Regions from separate parts of the Homo sapiens genome. Here region 1 is linked to region 2. The links are contacts of gene promoters, found by promoter capture Hi-C in blood cells and fetal thymus (Javierre and others, 2016). All regions are on one chromosome and are shown on one strand. The core of a region is centred on a gene start or on the middle of the fragment in contact, and the rest is flanking DNA. Distances in the headings are between cores, read along the strand shown.

What was found. Contacts are between HindIII fragments. The CHiCAGO score rates a contact against its expected background, and 5 or more counts as called.
Region 1: a fragment that was not itself captured here is called in contact with the fragment with the promoter of MFHAS1 in region 2 in 1 of 17 cell types (activated CD4 T cells); the score reaches 5.7 in activated CD4 T cells.

What each region holds. Positions count from the first base shown.
Region 1 is chr8:8,369,911-8,374,476 of GRCh38, reverse strand. All of the region lies in intron 3 of PRAG1 (PEAK1 related, kinase-activating pseudokinase 1), which reads left to right. Among named protein-coding and RNA genes, the nearest start is that of PRAG1, 14 kb to the left of the region's middle. RefSeq lists a silencer at 3,119-3,218. The HindIII fragment of the contact is 1,321 bases long and covers 646-1,966 here.
Region 2 is chr8:8,891,779-8,896,486 of GRCh38, reverse strand. MFHAS1 (multifunctional ROCO family signaling regulator 1) reads left to right here and starts at 2,857. Exons shown (of 3, transcript NM_004225.3): 1 at 2,857-4,708. The coding sequence starts at 3,429. It also overlaps the pseudogene RNU6-682P. RefSeq lists silencers at 2,712-2,961, 2,972-3,251, 3,362-3,631 and enhancers at 3,476-4,436, 4,437-4,708. The HindIII fragment of the contact is 4,068 bases long and covers 2,475-4,708 here.

The sequences.
Region 1 (4,566 bases), core at 57-2,556, 520 kb after region 2:
CTGTACCTGCAAGACTCCTAAGTCTACGCTCCTCCTGAACCTACAGGACATCAAGGAGCATGGAAATTGAGCAGGGCGTGAGAGTAAAACATCCAAATTGTATCTGCCTGCCTCAGTCCTGGGTAAATTAGTGGAAAGCACAGGTATTGGCATTAGAAAACCAAGTTCCTATTCCCTCTCTCTCACAAATGGAGTGACCTTGTATAAGCCACTCACTGTGACTGAGTCTCCAGTCCCTTCTCTAAAAGAGTTGGTCTCTAAACTGAGAGTCTGGAGTCTCTTCTCTAAAATGAGATGATAATAGTACTTTGATAACACCCTGCTATTGTAAACCTCTAATGAGACAAACAATGGAATCCAATGCAGAGGTTAGTGATGATGTAGGCAGAAGCCACCCAGGCTGCTGATTGTGCAATGACACCCACACCCTATGGGAACTAGCATGGCTCAATCCCAGGAACGCCACTCTGAGCCTTGGAGAAGTAACTAAAATTTACTCCTTTAAGAATCTCGGGGCTTGGAGAAATCCCAGTAACCATAGCAACATGACTCAGGTAGGGTTTTAATTAGCATCTGGGTTGAGATCAGAGTTTTTTCGGCCCAGTTTGTTATGATAAAACCCTTAGATTGCATATAGCTCAAGCTTGATGGGAATCTTGGAGGTTCAAGGTTTCAGCTCTTAAAAAATAAACAAGTTAGAGGAGAAAAAAGAATTAAAAAGAAGGGCCGGACTTAGTGGCTCATGCCTGTAATCATAGCACTTTGGGAGGCCAAGGCAGGCAGACTGCTTGAGCCCAGGACTTTGAGACCAACCTGGGCAACATGGTGAAACCCAGTCTCCACCAAAAAAGATATGAAAATCAGCCAGGGATGGTGGCACATGCCTGTCATCCCAGCTTCTCTGGGGGCTGAGGTGGGAGGATGGCTTGAGCCCAGAAAGTGGAGGTTGCAGTGAGCTATGATTGTGCCACTGTACTCCTGCCTGAGCAACAGAGCAAGACCCTGTCTCAAAAAAAAAAAAATCTAGAAAATAAAATTAGCTTAAGAGAACACAGAAAAACAAGAGCATCTTATTTTATTCAAAATAAACTAGAATATATTTTCATTTGGGGAAGCATTTTCATTTCTCAAGCATTACTGACATTATCTTTCGGATCTCCCTGTGAGAAGATAAGAGGGCAGGCCTGGGAACATATGCTGACTTTTAATTCTGGAACTCAGTACCTCCGCTGGGGATAGTGCCAGGAACCCCAGAGTCTTCCAACCTAGTAGGTCAGGGTGTTGGCAAATCAGAGTGTTAGTGAGAATGCAGCCAGCAGTTGATCCGGCACCAATTCCAGTACACACTGGTAATTATGGCAGGCTGATGTCAGTTTTCCAAAATGGAAGAACGTGAAAGGTCTTCAAGCAACATACAAGGTCAACCTGATTTCTTCACATGGGCCCATTTGTGAAATAGATCCTATTTCTAATGATCAGCTTCATTATGTGCGTTACCTACGCTCACACCTCTAGAAAAAGGACTTGCTTCATACAGGACACTGTTTCTTTCCACTTACATGGTGTGAGAGAGACAGATCGTCTGCTTCCTTAGGTCATTATGGAAGAACGGGGAATGATTTTCTCTTTTGCCTGTTGTTCTGTTTATCGCCCTATTTTACAAAACTGATTCTGACCTGGAGGGAAAAAAATAGATGTTAAGAATGACTTGGCTTTCCTGTGGTCCTGTTTTGAATGTTTGGCAGTAGCTTATCTGTCTTTTTGAGATATTGTCCTCTGTAAACTCCCATTCGTGTTCCTGAGAAACCTCTTGCTGGAGTGCCCTGCAGGAGAAAGGCTCTCCATGCTCATTTTATGCCCAGAACAGTTCTTCTTTGGAGGAGGTTAAGTGCCTGCCCAACCCTCCAACCCAGGCGGGTACGGCAAGGCCTGGATACTTCCTTCCCTGTTGCCGTCAAGGCAAGCTTTTATACCCACAAAGTCACACTTACTAAGAATGATGGATCTCACAGAGTCTCTGGGTCACCCCTGTCCCAATATAAGGCAGAATTATAAGATGAGGATCAACAAATACTGCTGGTTAGGAAACAAAAATACTTCAGGAAAGAAGGGTGAACTCATAGTTTAAATGTCATGCTTAAGACTTAATGGCAATTTGGCCAGGCATGGTGGCTGACACCTATAATCCCAGCACTTAGGGAGGCCAAGGCGGGTGGATCACTTGGGGTAAGGAGTTCAAGACCAGCCTGGCCAACATTAACGAGAACAGCAGAGCTGGGGAAACAATTAAGATGAGAAAGAACCAAATTGCTTTCTGCCTTTTGCTTTTTCACAGATGCAAACCCGGTTTTAAATGACTTAATGACTTTTGGGTGACTAGGTCAGCTGAAAGAGAATCATCTGGTTAGTGCAGATAAGCGTTTCACCAAGAAACCTCAAGTTAGGAGAAGAGGCCTGAGCCCAGGTGGAATTGAGGATGACAGGTGACTAAGAAATAAGACCGATTCATGTGGTTTCAGTGTCTAAATGGTCTGGCCCTAGGTGAGACTAATCAAAAGAAAAATTTCCCCAAGAAAGTGGGTGACGTCTTTGTTTTTTGTGTGTTTCGTTTTGAGACAGAATCTCACTCTGCCGCCCAGGCTGGAGTGCAGTGGTGCCATCTCACTGCAGCCTCCACTTGTCAGACTCAGGTGATCCTCTCACCCCAGCCTCCTGAGTAGCTGGGACTACAGGCACGTGCCACCATGCCCCCGCTAATTTTTATATTTTTGTAGAGACGGAGTTTCACCATGTTTCCCAGGCTGGTCTCGAACTCCTGGGCTCAAATGATCCACCTGCCTCAGCCTCCCAAAGTGTTGGGATTGCAGGCATGAGCCACCACGCCCAGCTGATGTCTTTGTTTGAAAGTTATCACTCATGGTCGGGCGCGGTGGCTCACACCTGTAATCCTAGCACTTTGGTAGGCCAAGGCGGGTGGATCACGAGGTCAGGAGATCGAGACCATCCTGGCTAACACGGTGAAACCCCTCTCTACTAAAAATACAAAAAATTAGCCAGGCGTGATGGCGGGCGCCAGTAGTCCCAGCTACTCGGGAGGCTGAGGCAGGAGAATGACGTGAACCCGGGAGGCGGAGCTTGCAGGGAGCCGAGATCGCACCACTGAGCTCCAGCCTGGGCGACAGAGCGAGACTCCACCTCAAAAAAAAAAGAAAGTTTTCGCTCAATTGAATTTCAATTTTAACCCACAACTTGCTAAATTCACCCCTTTTTCTGTGGGGCTGCTGGGGAGCAGAGGTTAAATCTATTCTTGGGCTTTTGCTCACTCTTTTTTTTTTTTTTTTTTTTGAGACAGAATCTCTGTCGCTCAGGCTGGAGTACAGTGGTGGTACCTTGCCTTACTGCAACCTCCGCCTCCCGGGTTCAAGCGATTTTCCTGCCTCAGCCTCCCAAGTAACTGGGATTACAGGTGCGCCACCACGCATGGCTAATTTTTATATTTTAGTAGAGATGGGGTTTCACCGTGTTGCTCAGGCTGATCTCGAACTCCTTACTTCAAGTAATCCACCTGCCAAAGTGTTGGGATTACAGGTGTGAGCTACAGCCCCCGGTCTTTTGCTCACTCTTAATTCTCCTCCTGAGCTGCTTCTCAGTAGACAGGTAGTGACAGTGTCATGAGTGGAGTTCGTTTCTGTCCACAGAAGTGGCCACATCAGTAACCAGAGGAACTGACATGACTTCACTGTGTGGGCTCTCCTGTAACATGATCTCTGGGCATGAACCGGGAGGATGGGCATAGGATGAGTGAGATGGGTGTTTGTCTCCAGTGTCCACATCGAATCTGATTAGAGCTTCCAATGTGTTCTTCTAGAGGCCCTTTCTGCTATAATGGATGACAGACAGTTGGGTGGCAACATTTTACTAGGAAATCCCATACTCTTGATGCATAACGGCCTTTTCTGGGCGGCATTTTGAAAATCACAGTTTGTATTAGGAAGCACTGTATTTAGAGAATCTTCATGGACTGTGTTTAGCCATTTTGACAAAACTTAAATAAGTAGGCTGGAGGTCAAGTTGGTCAGGGGAGAATGAATACTGGCCGTATTTCAGTGGCCCCCACAGATACACAGAGTTTGGCAAACAGAACAAAGCATATGTACCAACAATGCATGTTTATATTCTGTGCCATGCCAGGGGCAAATTCATAGTTGGCCTGTTTCCATAAGTGTGGGGATGGAACCTTGAAACACAGGACATCTCATAATGCTGTAAGCAGGGACCATTGAAATTGATTCCTAGAGTCTTGTTCTACAACTTCTTTAAAAATTACTGATTTGACAGCAGTATGTATTCAACATTTAAGACTTTCTGTCTAATTTTGAGCATACATTCTTGACTAAGGCTAGCAATTAGAGATTCTTTCTTTAATTTATCAGATATCTATTAATTGTCTACTTTTGAGTGGGCTCTGTGCAAGGCGCTAAAAAGCCAGTTACTGGGGTTCTGTTCCTTAAGGATCCTGAGAATTGAGTTGCTAAGAATTAAATCAGCAGGCGTGCAATATGACTG
Region 2 (4,708 bases), core at 1,608-4,107:
ATAAAGCAAATTATAGATGATCTCCTGACAAATGAAGAGTGCAGTTTTCCAAGGACATTTAAAATAGAAGTATAAGCTGGTCAGGGTGGCTTATGCCTATAATCCCAGCTACTCAGGAGGCTCAGGCAAAAAGACTGCTTGAGCCCAGGAGTTCGAGTCCAGCATGGGCAACAAAGCAAGACCCCCATCTCCAGAAAAAAAAAAAAAAAAGAAAGAAAGAAAAGAAAGGAAAATATAATTTTCTTCAGAGAAAAAGTCTCACTCTGTCACCCAGGCTGGAGTGCAGTGGTGTGATCTTGGCTGACTGCAACCTCCGCCTTCTGGTTTCGAGCAACTCTCGTGCCTCAGCCTCCTGAGTAGCTGGGGACTAAAGGTGCGCACCACTATGCCTGGCTAATTTTTGTATTTTTAGTAGAGATGGGGTTTTGACATGTTGGCCAGGCTGGTCTTGAGCTCCTAACCTCAACTGATCCACCACCTCGGCCTCCCAAAGTGCTGAGATTACAGGCATGAGATGCCATGTCCGGCCATTTTTCTTTTTTAAAATAATTTTTTAAATGAAAATATTATTAAATAAATGAACACCATGAATTTGCATGTCATCTTTGTGCAGGGCCATGCTAATCCTCTCTGTATTTTTCCAATTTTAGTATATGTGCTGCTGAAGCAAGCACAATTTTCATTTTTTTCAATTGATTTCAGCTTCTGCAGGAGGAAGTATAATTTTCTGATGGCTTCTAAAGAGGAACAGTTAGCAGTTATTGAGATATAATCATGTAAGGTGGTGTAGGATGGTGATGCCTACTCCAGTCTCCTTACCCAGGCTGAGTTCATATTTTTGTTAGAAGAAGCTGCAGGATGGAGAATTTGGGGTCTGGCTCAAGAACAGTGTGAGTACAGGTGATGATCACAGGGGAATACATTCCACACGGGGAGTTAGCAGTCCTGCCTCTACTCTACTTTGATGGCTGATTGAGAAGTCACTTACTTTGAGCCCATTTCCTCCTCTGTGGGGGAAAAAAAGGGTCAGCCTAGATAACTCAGAATATTTGTTGTAAAATTGACTGTCTCTGGGAGGGAGTGTGGGTGGGGCTACCCTGAGCCATCTGAACTCTCGGAAGTCCTTCAGAGTGAACACAGATCAGCTCTTGCTGTTCACTTACTCACATTTCATCTGTGGTGTCAGAGCCTCAGGGACCCAGCAGAACTGGGGAACATCCTCCAGTTACAGCATGTACTACCTGCAGCCTGATAACCATCACTGGGGTGGATTTCCAGCCTCAGATGTTCAGGTGCTCTTTTTGGAAACACACACTTCTCACGTTACTGCACCAAATATGGGTCCCCAAATGACAGCCATAGCGCATGTCGGGGAGAGCTGCAGTGGGTCAAGTGATGCCTTTAACCAACTGAACGCAGTTTTCGGTCCCTGAAAACTATTTGCTTCCTTATCAATCAACCTGAAGGGAATGATGGAGGTGACACTGGGAGTCTTGGTAGGTTTCCAGACTTTCATAAGTTCGGGAGAAATTATTGACTTAGCATAGATGTGAGCTCAAAGAAACATTTCCTAACAGCAATAAAAATAAGCATTAGAGTTGAACAATGGACTGTGACTGTTTCCCAAAATAGCTGTTTTCTTGAGTCCGCAGAACAACAGGTACTGTATTAATGGGGATACAGTATTTGTTTCACAGCGTTGTTGTGAAGATAAACGGGATACCCCAGATAAACAGCTTGTGTCCCCCCCATCTTAACAACCCTCCTTTAGGCTGGCGGGCCACCTGCTCAAAAGCCTTCCCCAGGGGGGTTAAAACCGTCTTTTAGTAGTTCTGGTACGGGTGGGCTGGGGGAGATCCTCTAAAGCCAGTGCGACCTTGACCCCAGCCAATGTCCAGGCTCTTGACACATCCAGAGAATGAGTTCAAGGACAACTCAGAAAATAGTGACAATATGCAGATTTATTGCAAAGGGAAAAGTACACACCCAGGAAAAGGGATTGTGGAGAGGGTCACTCACAACGGGGCTTGGGGCTGCTACCTTTATGGGTTTCTTTAACCAAGGGGTGAAATATTCATGAAAATTCCTGGAAAAGTGTGGAGATTTTTCGGGACTGTGGTGCCACCCATTTTTACTTCAAATATGGGTGTCCCCGGAATTGTCATGGCACTGGTGTGACTTAGGATGTTAAAGAGCGTATAATGGAGGCCTAGGAGAAACCTAGGTCAAATCCAGGACCACGTCGGGTCCAGCCGGTCTTAGCCAGCTTGGTACACACCCTGGTTTTCAGGGTCTTATCAGCCCATAGCCTCCAGTCAAGTGAAACTGCTGCCTGGTATTTTTTATTCTCCTCTGACCAGCCTGCATTACTCCTGTCCCATGTTCAACACGAAATAGGGCCTCAGGAAATATTTACCAAATGAATGAATGGTTGCCTGTTCTAATTTTGTTTAACCACACTCTTGTCCTAAGCTTCTATGATGATACCCAGGGCCCCCGAGTTGTGCCAGTTCCACTACGGCGTGGATGCAAGGCGAGCGGCAGGGGAGCAGGTAAAGGATGAGTAAGGGAAGCCGGCGGATCCGACGCATTAGAGAACAAGAAAAAGAAATCCTTAGAGACTGGGGGCCAACAAAGAGCCAGGCGCGGGCGAACCCACCAGGGGGGCCCCGGAGCCCCACATCCGCCGCTGGGACGACCTCCCCGCCCAGCATGGTCCGGGGCGCGGACCCGGCCCCGCGCCAGGCGCCCCCGGCCCCGCACCCGGCGCCCTCCGCAGCTCCCGCCCCCGGGGCGGTGCCGGGAAAACGCGGCGCCTCCGCCGGTCACGTGGGGGCCGCTCCGGCGGGCGGCGCTGCCGCTTCCCAATCGCGCCCTCCCAGCGCCGGGGACGCGGCGCCCGCGCTCCCGCCCGAGCCCGGGGAAACGGAGACAAGGAGGCGCCGCCGCCCCCTCCCCGCGGCTGCGCCCCAGCCCTGCGCCCGCAGCATGCCCGCCGCCGGGCCGAGCGCCGCCCTCCCCCAGGAGCTCGAGGAGGCGACGCCGCTGCCGGCCGCGGGACCGCGGCTGCGAGGGTAGCGGGGCCGGAGCCGGGCCCCCCGAGGCGCCGCGCGGCGGGCGGAGAGGGAGGAGGAGCAGGCATCCTCCGCGGCGCGCGGGCGGCGGCCCTGCTGCCCGGCGCGCCCATGGCCCGGCCGCAGGGAGAATGCAAGCTGCTCTCCACGCGCTCGGCGTCCCCCGGAGCCGCTCGCGTCGCCGCCGCCCCCTAGCCGCCAGCGCTCGGCCGCTGGCTGCGCTAGGACCCGCGGCCGCCGGCCGCCGAGCGCGGGAGGGCAGGCAGGGGCAGGAGCCGGAGGGCCCGGGGCGCGGCGCGGCATGTAGCTGCGGGCTCCCGCGTCCGCGTGAGGCTGTCGGCCCGGGGCCCCGCCATGGCTGGGATGGACAGTGGCAACCTGAAGACCGCGAGGCTGTGGCGGGACGCCGCCCTGCGTGCCAGGAAGCTGCGGAGCAACCTGCGCCAGCTCACGCTTACCGCCGCCGGGGCCTGCCCCGGGGCCGGGGCCGACGCGCTCGAGTCCCCCGCCTCCCCCCAGCTCGTGCTGCCGGCCAACCTCGGGGACATTGAGGCACTGAACCTGGGGAACAACGGCCTGGAGGAGGTACCCGAGGGGCTGGGGTCGGCGCTGGGCAGCCTGCGCGTCCTGGTCCTGCGCAGGAACCGCTTCGCCCGGCTGCCCCCGGCGGTGGCCGAGCTCGGCCACCACCTCACCGAGCTGGACGTGAGCCACAACCGGCTGACCGCCCTGGGCGCGGAGGTGGTGAGTGCTCTGAGGGAGCTGCGGAAGCTCAACCTCAGCCACAACCAGCTGCCCGCCCTGCCCGCCCAGCTGGGCGCTCTCGCTCACCTGGAGGAGCTGGATGTCAGCTTTAACCGGCTGGCGCACCTGCCTGACTCCCTCTCCTGCCTCTCCCGCCTGCGCACCCTGGACGTGGATCACAACCAGCTCACTGCCTTCCCCCGGCAGCTGCTGCAGCTGGTGGCCCTGGAGGAGCTGGACGTGTCCAGCAACCGGCTGCGGGGCCTGCCTGAGGATATCAGTGCCCTGCGTGCCCTCAAGATCCTCTGGCTGAGTGGGGCCGAGCTTGGCACGCTGCCCGCCGGCTTCTGCGAGCTGGCCAGTTTGGAGAGCCTCATGCTAGACAACAACGGGCTGCAGGCTCTGCCCGCCCAGTTCAGCTGCCTGCAGCGGCTCAAAATGCTCAACCTCTCCTCCAACCTCTTCGAGGAGTTCCCTGCCGCGCTGCTGCCCCTGGCTGGTCTGGAGGAGCTCTACCTTAGTCGCAACCAGCTCACCTCGGTGCCATCCCTTATCTCGGGCCTGGGCCGGCTTCTCACCTTGTGGCTGGATAATAACCGCATCCGCTACCTGCCGGACTCCATCGTGGAGCTGACCGGCCTGGAGGAGCTCGTGCTGCAGGGGAACCAGATCGCGGTGCTGCCCGACCACTTTGGCCAGCTCTCCCGGGTGGGTTTGTGGAAGATCAAAGACAACCCACTGATCCAGCCCCCCTACGAGGTCTGCATGAAGGGGATCCCCTACATCGCAGCCTACCAGAAGGAACTGGCTCATTCCCAGCCGGCGGTGCAGCCCCGGCTCAAGCTGCTCCTGATGGGGCATAAGGCTGCAGGAAAGACTTTGCTGCGCCA